Regions from separate parts of the Homo sapiens genome. Here regions 1 and 3 are each linked to region 2. Evidence: promoter capture Hi-C in human tissues and cell types (Jung and others, 2019). All regions are on one chromosome and are shown on one strand. Each heading gives the region's core, a stretch centred on a gene start or on the middle of the fragment in contact. The rest is flanking DNA. Distances are from core to core; before and after follow the strand shown.

Region 1 (4,149 bases), core at 1,479-3,978, 220 kb after region 2:
GCCCGGCCCGGGCAATGAGGGGCTTAGCAACCGGGCCAGCGGCTGTGGAGGGTGTACTGGGTCCCCCAGCAGTGCCAGCCCGCCGGCGCTGCGCTCGATTTCTCACCGGGCCTTAGCTGCCTTCCCACGGGGCAGGGCTTGGGACCTGCAGCCCGCCATGCCTGAGCCTCCCACCCCCTCCATGGGCTCCTGTGCGGCCCGCGCCTCCCCGACGAGCGCCACCCTCTGCTCCGCGGCTCCCAGTCCCATCGACCACCCAAGGGCTGAGGAGTGCGGGCGCACGGCACCGGGACTGGCAGGCAGCTCCACCTGCAGCCCCAGTGCGGGATCCACTGGGTGAAGCCAGCTGGGCTCCTGAGTCTGGTGGAGATATGGAGAACCCCTATGTCTAGCTCAGGGATTGTAAATACACCAATCAGCACCCTGTGTCTAGCTCAGGGTCTGTGAATGCACCAATGGACACTCTGTATCTAGCTACTCTGGTGGGGCCTTGGAGAACCTTCATGTCTAGCTCAGGGATTGTAAATACACCAATCGGCACTCTGTATCTAGCTCAAGGTTTGTAAACACACCAATCAGCACCCTATGTCTAGCTCAGGGTTTGTGAATGCACCAATTGACACTCTGTATCTGGCTACTCTGGTGGGGCCTTGGAGAACCTTTGTGTGGACACTCTGTATCTAGTTAATTTAGTGGGGACGTGGACAACCTTTGTGTCTAGCTTAGGGGTTGTAAAGGCACCAATCAGCACCCTGTCAAAACAGACCACTGGCTCTACCAATCAGCAGGATGTGGGTGGGGCCAGATACCAGAATAAAAGCAGGTTGCCCCAGCCAGCAGTGGCACCTCGCTCGGATCCCCTTCCAAGCTATGGAAGCTTTGTTCTTTTGCTCTTTGCAATAAATCTTACTACTGCTTACTCTTTGGGTCCACGCTGCTTTTATGAGCTGTAACACTCACCGCGAAGGTCTGCAGCTTCACTCCTGAAGCCAGCGAGACCACGAGCCTACTGGGAGGAACGAACAACTCCAAACGCGCTGCTTTAAGAGCTGTAACACTCACAGTGAAGGTCTGCAGCTTCACTCCTGAGCCAGCGAGACCATGGACCCACCAGAAGGAAGAAACTCCGAACACATCCGAACATCAGAAGGAACAAACTCCAGACGCGCCACTTAAGAGCTGTAACACTCACCGCGAGGGTCTGCGGCTTCATTCTTGAAGTCAGTGAGACCAAGAACCCACCAATTCTGGACACAAGGTGGCTCCTGTGGTGGGTCCACATTGTCAAACCTTCATAGCTCAGTAAGTGTTGAGGGAAATAGGGAAAAGAGATGATTGAGGGGAAAGGCATTGACTTGTTAATCATAGGGCAGGAGAAACCCTGTGATGTCCACGGAGAAGGGGCTGTTGAGGCTGATTTCTTGGAAGGGAGAATGGCTAGACTACTTGCTTAAATAGCCATTGTATAGCGAGCTTTAACTTTGCCTGTATATTACTTGGGTAGATGACTGATGGAGGTTATAGGAAGGGCTACTCTTTGTTGGCCTGGGGCACTGTTTGATATCTTAGCGCTGCCCTGGATCACTCTGTGTGGTCTTGGAGTGACCAATCTGCATTGTACAAATGGATGCTCCAAGGTACATGATAGGAATTGCAATTCTCCCTGGGGCCTGGAGGGAAAGATGGATTTAGGGCAGGCAAAACTAAGGACAAGGAAACAGGGTTGGGGATTCCTCATATCATTGGAATTGAGGGGAACAACTCAGGAATATTTTTGCAGAAGAAAAACAAAGGCCAGGAGAGGTAAAGGAATGAGGTCAATGTCTTGCTAACAATCTCAGCTTAAGGACGAGACTTGACTTCAAGTGAAATGAAGGGAATTATGGAAAAGAATCCTGCAGGTTTCAGTAGGAGCTGTAGGTGCCTTGCAGTGAAGTCCTGGTCACTTCTAGTTCTTTTCACCTACTACCTGACCCAAGAACTTCAGAGGCCCTCAGCCTAGATCAAGCCTCTCTGAATTCTTCTCTGTGACCCTCACTTGCTTGGAAACATCTCCTGCCTCTCCAGAAAGACTTATCCTTCCCCATCCTTCTTTACCCTTATCCATGATTCTAAGTAGACACCTTCAAGAGACAAGCGTCTGTGTTCCCTGGAATGGAAGGCCATGGTGTATAACAACTAGGGTACGATGGGTGAGTGAGGGAAAGTGAAGGGCTCAGGCAAGCCCAACATCCAGTCTCCTCTTGACATCGTATCCTCTGGGGAACACGAGGGAAGCATTGAAACCTGCAGGATTCTTTTCCATAATTCCCTTCATTTCACTTGAAGGTCAAGTCTCATCCTTAAGCTGAGATTGTTAGCAAGACATTGACCTCATTCCTTTACCTCTCCTGGCCTTTGTATTTCTTCTGCAAAAATATTCCTGAGTTGTTCCCCTCAATTCCAATGATATGAAGAATCCCCAACCCTGTTCCCTTATCCTTAGTTTTGCCTGCCCTAAATCCATCTTTCCCTCCAGGCCCCAGGGAGAATTGCAATTCCTATCATGTTACTCCTTTGATTGCCGTTCCTTCACAGCCCCATCCTTTATGGATTATACTTTTCAAAGTTCTTAGACATGTCATCCCTGCCCACCTCTCCAACATCATCCTCATCGTTTCTATCTAACACTTTGTACTTAAGCAGCAGCAAAGGGCTAAGAGAACTCTGTCCCATGCTGCTTCTTGCTTCTAGGCTTATTCCCTTGCTTATATCTCTGCCAGAAATGCCCCTGTGCAACCATTCACCTGGGTAACTCCTTGCCCAGGTATTCCTTCCTCCAGGACTCCTTCCCTGAATGCATTACTCCAGGCTGGATTGAGGGTTCCTCTCTGTACTCCACTCTGTACATCGTTTTATTTTAGCACTTAATTCACTGTGTTACAATGATCTGTTTCTGAATCCATCTTCTGGAAGGTGGAACCATAAGAAAAAAAAGACCACATCATTAATCTTTGTATCCCCAACAGCTAACACTTAGCCTGGCCCAAAGAAGACCCTCTTGCAGAATGGCTGTTAGCACTTTTTCAGTGACTGACAACCTAGTTGTCAACCTAGTTCAATTCTTCTGTACTTCCCAGCACGGCTCAACAAAAATTATGCACCAGGCCACGTGCTGTGGCTCATGCCTGTAATCCCAGCACTTTGGGAGGCCGAGGTGGGCAGATCACCTGAGGTTGGGAGTTGAAGACCAGCCTGGCCAACATGGTAAAACTAACTAGTTTTTGTAAAAAACTAGCTAGTTAGTTTTGTATTTTTACAAAAACTAGCTGGGCATGGTGGTGCACACCTGTAATCCCAGCTACTCAGGAGGCTGAGGCAGGAGAATTGTTTGAACCCGGGAGGCAGAGGTTATAGTGAGCCGAGATTGCGCCACTGAACTCTCCAGCCTGGGTGACAGCTCAAGACTCTGTCTCAAAAGAAAAGAAAACAAACAAAAACCCAACAACAACAAAAAAAATTGTGCACCAACACTAGACACTAGAAACAGATTAGGACATATTTATTATGTGGATGGAAAAAGAGAATCATATAAGTGTCAAATGACTGTATCTTTCTGGTCTCTAATTTTGAAACCCTGGTTCTAAGGTAGAAAGTTTTTAATGTGCGGTCAGCTTCTTAAGATGAATGTTATTACTGGTAATGTCATGACCTATTTGAATCAGAATTTGGCTGCCACCATAATTCCAAGTGGGACTTAAGGCAACAAGTAACCCTTCCTTCCTTCCTTCCTTCCTTCCTTCCTTCCTTCCTTCCTTCCTTCCTTTCTTCCTTTCCTTCCTTCCTTCTTTCCTTCCTTCCCTTCCTTCCTCCTTCCCTCCCTCCCTTCCTCTTTCCTTCCTTGAAAACCTAAATCCACTCATCTTGCAATATTTTGTCTAGCTATTATCTCTGCTTTCATATTTTCTCACTGCTCAGACATAGTTGTCTGACCTTCTTCAGTCTCAGTTGTGTCTTAGACAAGGAAGATGACCCTGACCTTTTCTTAAGTTCACTGAACCTTATATGTGTTAGAGCAGGTGCAGACCATTTTATCTCTAAGGTCTAAAGTTGCTCTTGGTAGATTTGATGATTCTAAAGCAGAGAAAAAGGGAATGGGTAAGCCTCTGA
Region 2 (3,997 bases), core at 1,158-3,657:
CAAGGTTGGTTCAACAAAAGGAAATTTAAAAAATGTAATTCTTCACATTAGTACAAAAGACAAAAAATCCCACAGAATCACCTCAACTAATGCAGGAAAGGCATTTGATGAAACCCAACACTTTTCCTTGATAAAAATTAAGAAAACTGGCCAGGCGTGGTGGCTCACACCTGTAATCCCAGCACTTTGGGTGGCCAAGGCAGGTGGATCATGAGGTCAGGAGTTGGAGACCAGCCTGGCCAAGCTGGTGAAACCCCGTCTCTACTAAAAATACAAAAAAATTAGCCAGGTGTTGTGGTGGGCACTTGGGAGTGCCCACCTACTTGGGAGGCTGAGGCAGAGAATTGCTTGAACCCGGGAGGTGGAGGTTGCAGTGAGCCAAGATCATGCCACTGCACTCCAGCCTGGGTGACAGAGCGAGATTGTCTCAAAAAAAAAATTAAGAAAACTAGAAACAGAAGGGAGTTTATTCAACGTGACAAAACGCACTTACGAAAACACAGCTAACGTGATATTCAATAGTGAATGCCTGAAAATTCTCCCTAAGACCAGGAAGGAGAGAAAGATGTCTGATTTTTCTATTGTTATTCAACATTCTACAGGAAATTCTTTTTTTTTTTTTTTTTTTGAGATGAAGTTTTGCTCTTGTCACCCAGGCTGGAGTGCAATGGAGCCATCTCCACTCACTGCAAACTCCGTAACCTCCGCCTCCCAGGTTCAAGTGATTCTCCTGCCTCAGCCTCCCGAGTAGCTGGGATTACAGGTGCCAACCACCACGCCTGGCTAATTTTTTGTATCTTTAGTAGAGACGGGGTTTCACCATGTTGGTCAGGCTGGTCTTGAACTCCTGACCTCAGGTGATCCACCCACCTCGGCCTCCCAAAATGTTGGGATTACAGGAGTGAGCCACCGTGCCCAGCCTCTACAGGAAATTCTAGCCAGAGCAATTACACAAGAAAATAAAATAAAAGGTTTCTCAATTAGAATAGAACAAATAAAAATATATTTATAGGTGATATTTGATATATAGAGAATTTTGAAGAATCTACAAGAAAACTAGCAGAGCTTGTAATAAATTCCGTAAAGTTGCACAGTACAACATCAAGAGATGAAAATTAGTTTTGTATCTATACACCAGCAATGAACAATCAGAAAAGGAAACTGAGAATGTGATCCCTTTTACAAATAAGTTACATGGGAATAACTTTACCCCAAGAGGTAAAATATTTGTAAACTGAAAATTTCAAAACATTACTGAAAGAGTTTAAAGAAGACCTAAATAGAGAGATATTGTATATTCACACATAGGAAGACTCAGTATTATAAAGATACCAATATAACCCGAAGATTCAACTAAATCTCTACCACAAGTCCAACAGTCCTTTCTTTTTCTGCACAGAATAAGTGAAGAATGCCTGGTATCAGTGTTATTTCATAAAGTAGTACAGGAGGCTTTGAATCATTTGATAAGATTTGAGAAATAGTAACAAATACATTGTTGAAGAAGAAAAAAAAATACAATAAGGCCAGGCATGGTGCATGATGGCTCACGCCTGTAATCCCACTTCGGGAGTGCAGGGCGGGCAGATCACTTGAGCCCAGGAGTTCCAGACCAGCCTGGGCAACATGGTTAGATCCTGTCTCTACAAAATAATAATAATGATGATAATAATAATAATACAAAAATTAGCCGGGTGCGGTGCGCCCGTGGTCCCAGCTACTCGGGAGGCTGAGGTGGAAGGATGGCTTGAGCCTGGAGAGGTGGAGACTGCAGTGAGCCGTGTTCCTACCACTGCATTCCAGCCTTGGCAACCGAGCCAGACCCTACCTCGAAGAAAAAAAGAAAAGAAAAGAAAAAAGAAAGAAAAGAAAAAAATTGCAATATTTACAGAAAGTATCGATAACTGAAAACGCAGAGGAATCAATGATTAGAGTTTAGCAAGGTCAGATAAATAAAAAGAAATAAGAGAAAATAAAGTTCTAAAGACGTGATCGAATGCAGGAAGCAGGCCATTTTGTGGATTGGCAGGTTATCAACTGGAGAGAATCCTGAAAGGGGTCCAGGAACGTGGGGAAAGTTTCTAATGAGCATCCTGAGGGGCGAGTCCATCGCCCGACGTTTCGCCTTCCTGGTCCATTCTGCCACCGAAGCCACCGGCTGGGTCTGGTCCCACCTCCAGCCCCGCCCCCGGGCATGGGCCCCGCCCACAGCCCTGATTTAACCCCCACCTTTCTCTGTGGGTCCATTTCTCTCTTGCCCACCCAGGCACTGAGCCGACCCCTTGATACCTCCGCACCCACGCGGAGGGAAACTAGAATCCTGAAGAGTTCCATCCTGTCCAACTGCCCACACAACGAGCCACGCCCCTTCCAATGCCCCAAACGGAAGTGACGTTGCGGCGCGCCAGTTCTCTCTTTTGGTCGCTGGCGCCTGTTTCCTCAGAGCCACTTTTTCCTTTGTGTTGTCTGGTCGTTCACTACTTTGGTGAGGCTCGTGTGGACTAGTGGGTTGGGCGGTGTTTCGGGGGGTGGCAGAGGTCACAATCGACCCAGGGTAATCGAGGAACCTCCTTACAGAGGCCTGGACCACTCCACAGGAGTCCGCAGGAGTCGCGGAGCCATCGGGTGAGGCCACGTCGAAGAGGCCATTGGGACCTTCGGTCCCCTAGAGGAGCCGGGTGGGAAGTGCAGTATGGGCGCGTCCGAGGGCTGTTTTCAGCCGTGTGTTCCCGTCTTCAAAAGTGTCCAAGCGTTCTGAGGCCTTAAAAAATAAGTCTCCAAGGCAACGTTTGTGAATTGTGTTTCAGAGGGAAAAGAATTTTGCCGTTCGCGTTCGATTGACTCCGTCCCCAAGATCCTGTAGCCCCACGGACCTGGCGACTCCACCGTGTTCGGGTGAGCATTGGGAAAAAGTTGGTTTAAGGGGGCAGCTGCTTCCTTTTTTATGCAAACGAGTGTTTCATGTGAGATTTTGGCATTTTGCCTTTGTGAAACCTGTATATTTTTTATTGACACATTACGTTCCGGTAGAAAGGTGCTTTCTTAGTTGTCTAGGGTGTGCGTATTTCTGCATGTGCATATAAACGTTTGTAGACCGCGAGTCTTTCTACTAAAGAAACCTAAGAATACTCAGCCATTCTTTTCATCTGAAGTTCCTAGCTCTGTACGTCTCCAAAGAGCTTCATAACCAGGCTTCCTGGAAGAAAGGATGGAGGGTTTACACACTAATACTAGAATAATCGAATTTACCATTAACAGGATGACTGTACTAAGTGTATTTTTCCCGCATTTTTTTTCGAAAAAACTTAAACCTATGGGTATGTTGACCATCCAGTACCACGAATAAATATCCATTGTAGCTGCACCTGTTTTTTAGCGTTTTGTGTATTCGCCGTCTCGTAAATAAATTTTATGGTGAACAGTTTGAGAGTCAATGGGAAATTCATTGCAGAGATGAAGCTCGACATTTTTTTTTTTTTTTTTTTTTTGAGAGGGGGTCTAGCTGTGTCGCCCAGGCTGGAGTGCAGTGGCGCGATCTCGCCTCACTGCAACCTCTGCCTCCCGGGTTCAAGCGATTCTCCTGCCTCAGCTTCCCAAGTGGCTGTAATTACAGGGGTGTGCCACCGTGCCCGGATAATTTTTTGTATTTTTGTAGAGATGGGGTTTCACCGTGATAGCCAGGATGGTAAGCTCGACATTTAAGTAGTGGGTAATGCCTGACTCAATGATAAGAGTGTTGTTTTACTAAAACCGTAATACTATTTGCATCAAGAAAATTAAAAATAATAATGTTATCTAATATTTACTATGTATAATAAATGAAAATTCTCCAAATTCTTCTAAAATATAACGGAATGTTTTTGGATCTGAGCTCTATTCAAGATTTTTTTTTTTTGAGAGTTTTTTTGAGGCAGGATGTTGCCTTGTTGCCCAGGCTGGAGTGCGGTGGCATGATATTGGCTCACTGCAACCACCGCTTACCACGCCCAACTTTGTG
Region 3 (3,948 bases), core at 983-3,482, 130 kb after region 2:
ATAGAAAGATCATATGAAAAAAAGGATATGAAGATTTGAACAACACAATGAGTATGCTTAATCTAGCACACTGAGGGACACTACTGAATGTATGGAGTATACATAGATTCTTGAAGCACACATGAAGTGTTTATAAAAACTGACCATACTGTATGGTGAATATACTGTAAAGCCAGTCTTAAACCTTCCAAATTTGGTATATAAAACATCTCATGGGCCCCTTAAATATATATACCTACTATGTGCCCACAAAAATTAAAACTTAGAAAAAGATTTGGTATACAAACATGTTCTCTGACATGTCTTAATTACAATGTAACTAAGTTGTAAGTTAATAACGAGATTACATTGAACTATATGAAATGGGTGTTTTGGTAGTTTTAAAATATGGTTGAATATTAGTGGTTTCATATTTTTCAAGCAAACAGAAAAAAGTAACACATTTGGAATTCAGAAAACATCACACTTCCAAATAACTTATGCTTTTATAAAAGAATTGAATTAGAAAATACATAATACTATGGTTATTGATTAGTTCTAAGTACCACAACTTGTAGAATGTAGCTAAACTGGTCCTTAGGAAAAAAATAAGCTTTATATGTTTATATTAGAAAAGAAGTGAACTTAAAAATTAACTTAAGCAGCTGGAACGGGAAGAGCAGAAAATACGATGATGAACTAGAAAACAACAGTATCACTCAAGCTACAAACTGGTTCTTTGAAAACTACTAGGAAAAAAATCGGGCAAAATTCTTCAAAGACAAAAGGAGAAAAACACAACTACAAATGTTGCAGAGATTAACAAGACATGAATAACTTTAATCAAATTCAAAACTTTCAGGAAATAAATTGATTCCTACAGAAATACAACTTACCAAAACTGTGTAGAAATTACAATAAAAAGAACTAGCTGGTGATGGTTGAGTAACACTGTGAATGCAATGAATGCCACTGACTTGTACATTTAAAAATGATTAAAATGGCAAATTTGGCTTTAGGTATTTTACCACAATTTAAAAAATATAAAAGAAGAATCTAGACTGATCCCGTCAGCAAGGTGCTAGGTCTTCCCAGCTTAACTCACTGCCCAGATATTCTTTTAAAACAGAAAACAAAACTAGATTATTTAGGTTTTCACCAAAAAACACCATGCTCAAAGGCTTTATCAGTCAGTTATGCCACTCAAAGAAGAAAGAATTCCAGTCTGGATGAAAATATTCCAGAGATTAGGCATATTTATGAAGACTGGTTACTTAAACTACACTTCAATGTAATTTGTCACTAATGTTTGCATTATTTCAGGTATAGATAACTTATCCACTCTATAGGCAAGAGCTGGGTATCTGGAAGGTTTTATTTAATATAGCCTTTATGCAAACCCCAGAATTGTGTATGGTTCAAAATGTCATGTTTGCCTTTGGTTATTCTATTAACAGCAGTTTACAATATTACAAGGGAAAAAAATATGGTCACTTTTAAACTAATTTCACAAAACAGTTTAACTTATCAAAGGGATTACCGTGATTAAGAGTATAAAAGGAAGAATATTCTTTGAGATTGGCATACTGATATCAAACATGACAAGGCCACTTTAAGTAAACAAAATTATAGGCAAATTTCAACATAGATTCAGATATTCTAAGGAAAATAAGTCCAAACAAAAAATGTCAATAAATAGGAAATATAGTACAACAGAATTAAGTTAGGTTTACCAGAGGAATGCAAGAGATGCTTGCTATTAGAAAATCAATATAATTTGCTTCATTAATAGAGCAAAAGAAAAATTGTATGATCAACTCAAAGTGATAAAAACCAGTATCACATAATGATTTCAAAAATAAATTTTTTCAACCTGAAAACTTTCGGGCTGAATTTAATTCAGCCAGCTTATTTATTTTTATTTTTATTTTTTTTTTGAGACACTCTTGGTCTGTTTCCCAGGCTGGAGTGCAGTGGTGCGATCTCTGCTCACTGCAACCTCGCCAGGTTCAGGTGATTCTCCTGCCTCAGCCTCCCAAGTAGCTGGGACTACAGACGCGTGCCACCACACCCAGCTATGTTTTTGTATTTTTAGTAGAGACGGGGTTTCACCGTGTTAGCCAGGATGGTCTTGATCTGCTGACCTCATGATCCGCCCGCCTGGGCCTCCCAAAGTGCTGGGATTACAGGCGTGAGCCACCACGCCCAGCCTCAGCTGACTTTTGAAAACACAATTCAAAGATGGGCAAATGATCTGAATGTACATTTTTCTAAAGATAAAAAGGTCAACTGCACATGAAAAGATGCTGAACATCATTAGACACCAGGGAAATGCAAATCAAAACCACATTAAGATACCACTTCACACATTAAGGTGAGTGTAATTAAAAAGACAAGTGTGGATGAGGATGTGGAGAAATTCTCTTGTTTTTTTGTGGAGGGGAGTGAAGTGGGAAGTGGTGCTGCCACGTTGGCAAACAGCCTAGCATTTTACCAGAAGATTAAACATAAAAGTTCGTCTCATGAACAAGGCATTCCACTCCTAGGTATATACCCAAGAGAAATATTCACAGCAGCATTATTCATATTAGCCAAAAAGGAGAAACAACCCAAATGTCTATCTACCGATGAACGGATAAATGAAAATGTGGTATATCCATACAATGGACTATCATTTGACAATAGAAAATGAAGGCCAGGCATGGTGACTCATGCCTGTAATCCTCAGCACTTAGGGAGGCTGTAGTGGGTGGATCACATTAACCCAGGAGTTCAGACCAGCCTGGTAACACAGTGAGATCTCATCTCTACCAAAAATTTAAAAAAATAGCCAGGCTTGGTGGCCCACACCTGTGGTCCTACCTACTCGGGAGGCTAAGGTGGAAGGCCGAGCTAGGGAGGTCGAGGGCACCACGGCACTCCAGCCTGGGTGACAGAGAAAGACCTTGTCTCATTAAAAAAAGGAATGAGGCTAGGCACGGTGGCTCACGCCTGTAGTCCCAGCACTTTGGGAAGCCAAGGTGGGCGCATCACGAGGTCAGGAGATCCAGACCACTCTGGCCAACATGGTGAAAGAACGTCTCTACTAAAAATACAAAAATTAGCCGGGTGTGGTGGAGCATGCCTGTAATCCTAGCTACTTGGGAGGCTGAGGCAGGAGAATCACTTGAACCCGGGAGGCAGAGGTTGCAGTGAGCCGAGATTGCGCCACTGCACTCTAGCCTGGCGACAGAGGTAGATTTGGTGCTGTGACTCAGATCTGGGGACCTCCCTTGGGAGATCAATCCCCTATCCTCCTGCTCTTTGCTCTGTGAGAAAGATCCACCTATGACCTCAGGTCCTCAGACCGACCAGCCAAGGAACATCAATCCAATTTTAAATCAGGTAAGTGGCCTCTTTTTACTCTCTTCTCCAACCTCTCTTACTATCCCTCAACCTCTTTCTCATTTCAATCTTGGCGCCACACTTCAATCTCTCCCTTCTCTCAATTTCAGTTCCTTTCCTTTTCTCGTAGACAGGAGACGTGTTTTATCCATGGACCCAAAACTCCGGCGCCGGTCATGGACTCGGGAAGACAGTCTTCCCTTGGTGTTTAATCATGCGGGGACGCCTGCCTGATTATTCACCCACATTTCAGAGGTGTCTGACCACGTGGGGATGCCTGCCTTGGTCCTTCACCCTTAGCGGCAAGTACTGCTTTTCTGGGGGCAAGAACCCCCTGACCCCCTTCTCTCCATGTGTCTACCCTTCTCCGCTTTTCTGGGGGTCAAGAACCCCTGAACCCTTCTCTCCATATCTCTAGCCCTTCTCCACTTTTCTGGGGTGCAAGAACCCCCCGGTCCCTTCTCTCTGTGTCTCTACCCCTTCTCTGCTTTTCTGGAGGACAAGAAGCCCCCACCCCTTCTCTCCATGTCTCTACTCTCTCTTTTTTCTGGGCTTGCCTCCTTCACTATGGGCAAGCTTCTGCCC

The links. The method cuts DNA at HindIII sites, captures the fragments that hold promoters and counts their contacts. A contact is called where the count stands out against the background at its distance.
Region 1: a contact is called between a fragment that was not itself captured here and the fragment with the promoter of ZNF560 in region 2, in 7 of the 25 tissues and cell types used here (H1 embryonic stem cells, IMR-90 fibroblasts, lymphoblastoid cells and 4 more).
Region 3: a contact is called between a fragment that was not itself captured here and the fragment with the promoter of ZNF560 in region 2, in 3 of the 25 tissues and cell types used here (adrenal gland, aorta and small bowel).

The regions. Positions count from the first base shown.
Region 1 is chr19:9,279,578-9,283,726 of GRCh38, reverse strand. No RefSeq gene overlaps it. Among named protein-coding and RNA genes, the nearest start is that of ZNF699, 28 kb to the left of the region's middle. The HindIII fragment of the contact is 5,089 bases long and covers 184-4,149 here.
Region 2 is chr19:9,497,026-9,501,022 of GRCh38, reverse strand. It overlaps ZNF560 (zinc finger protein 560), which reads left to right and starts at 2,407. Exons shown (of 10, transcript NM_152476.3): 1 at 2,407-2,485; 2 at 2,808-2,895. The HindIII fragment of the contact is 15,358 bases long and covers 1-3,997 here.
Region 3 is chr19:9,365,281-9,369,228 of GRCh38, reverse strand. The region is part of intron 7 of ZNF559-ZNF177 (ZNF559-ZNF177 readthrough); the gene reads right to left. All of the region lies in intron 2 of ZNF177 (zinc finger protein 177), which reads right to left. Among named protein-coding and RNA genes, the nearest start is that of ZNF177, 4.2 kb to the right of the region's middle. The HindIII fragment of the contact is 4,787 bases long and covers 1-3,948 here.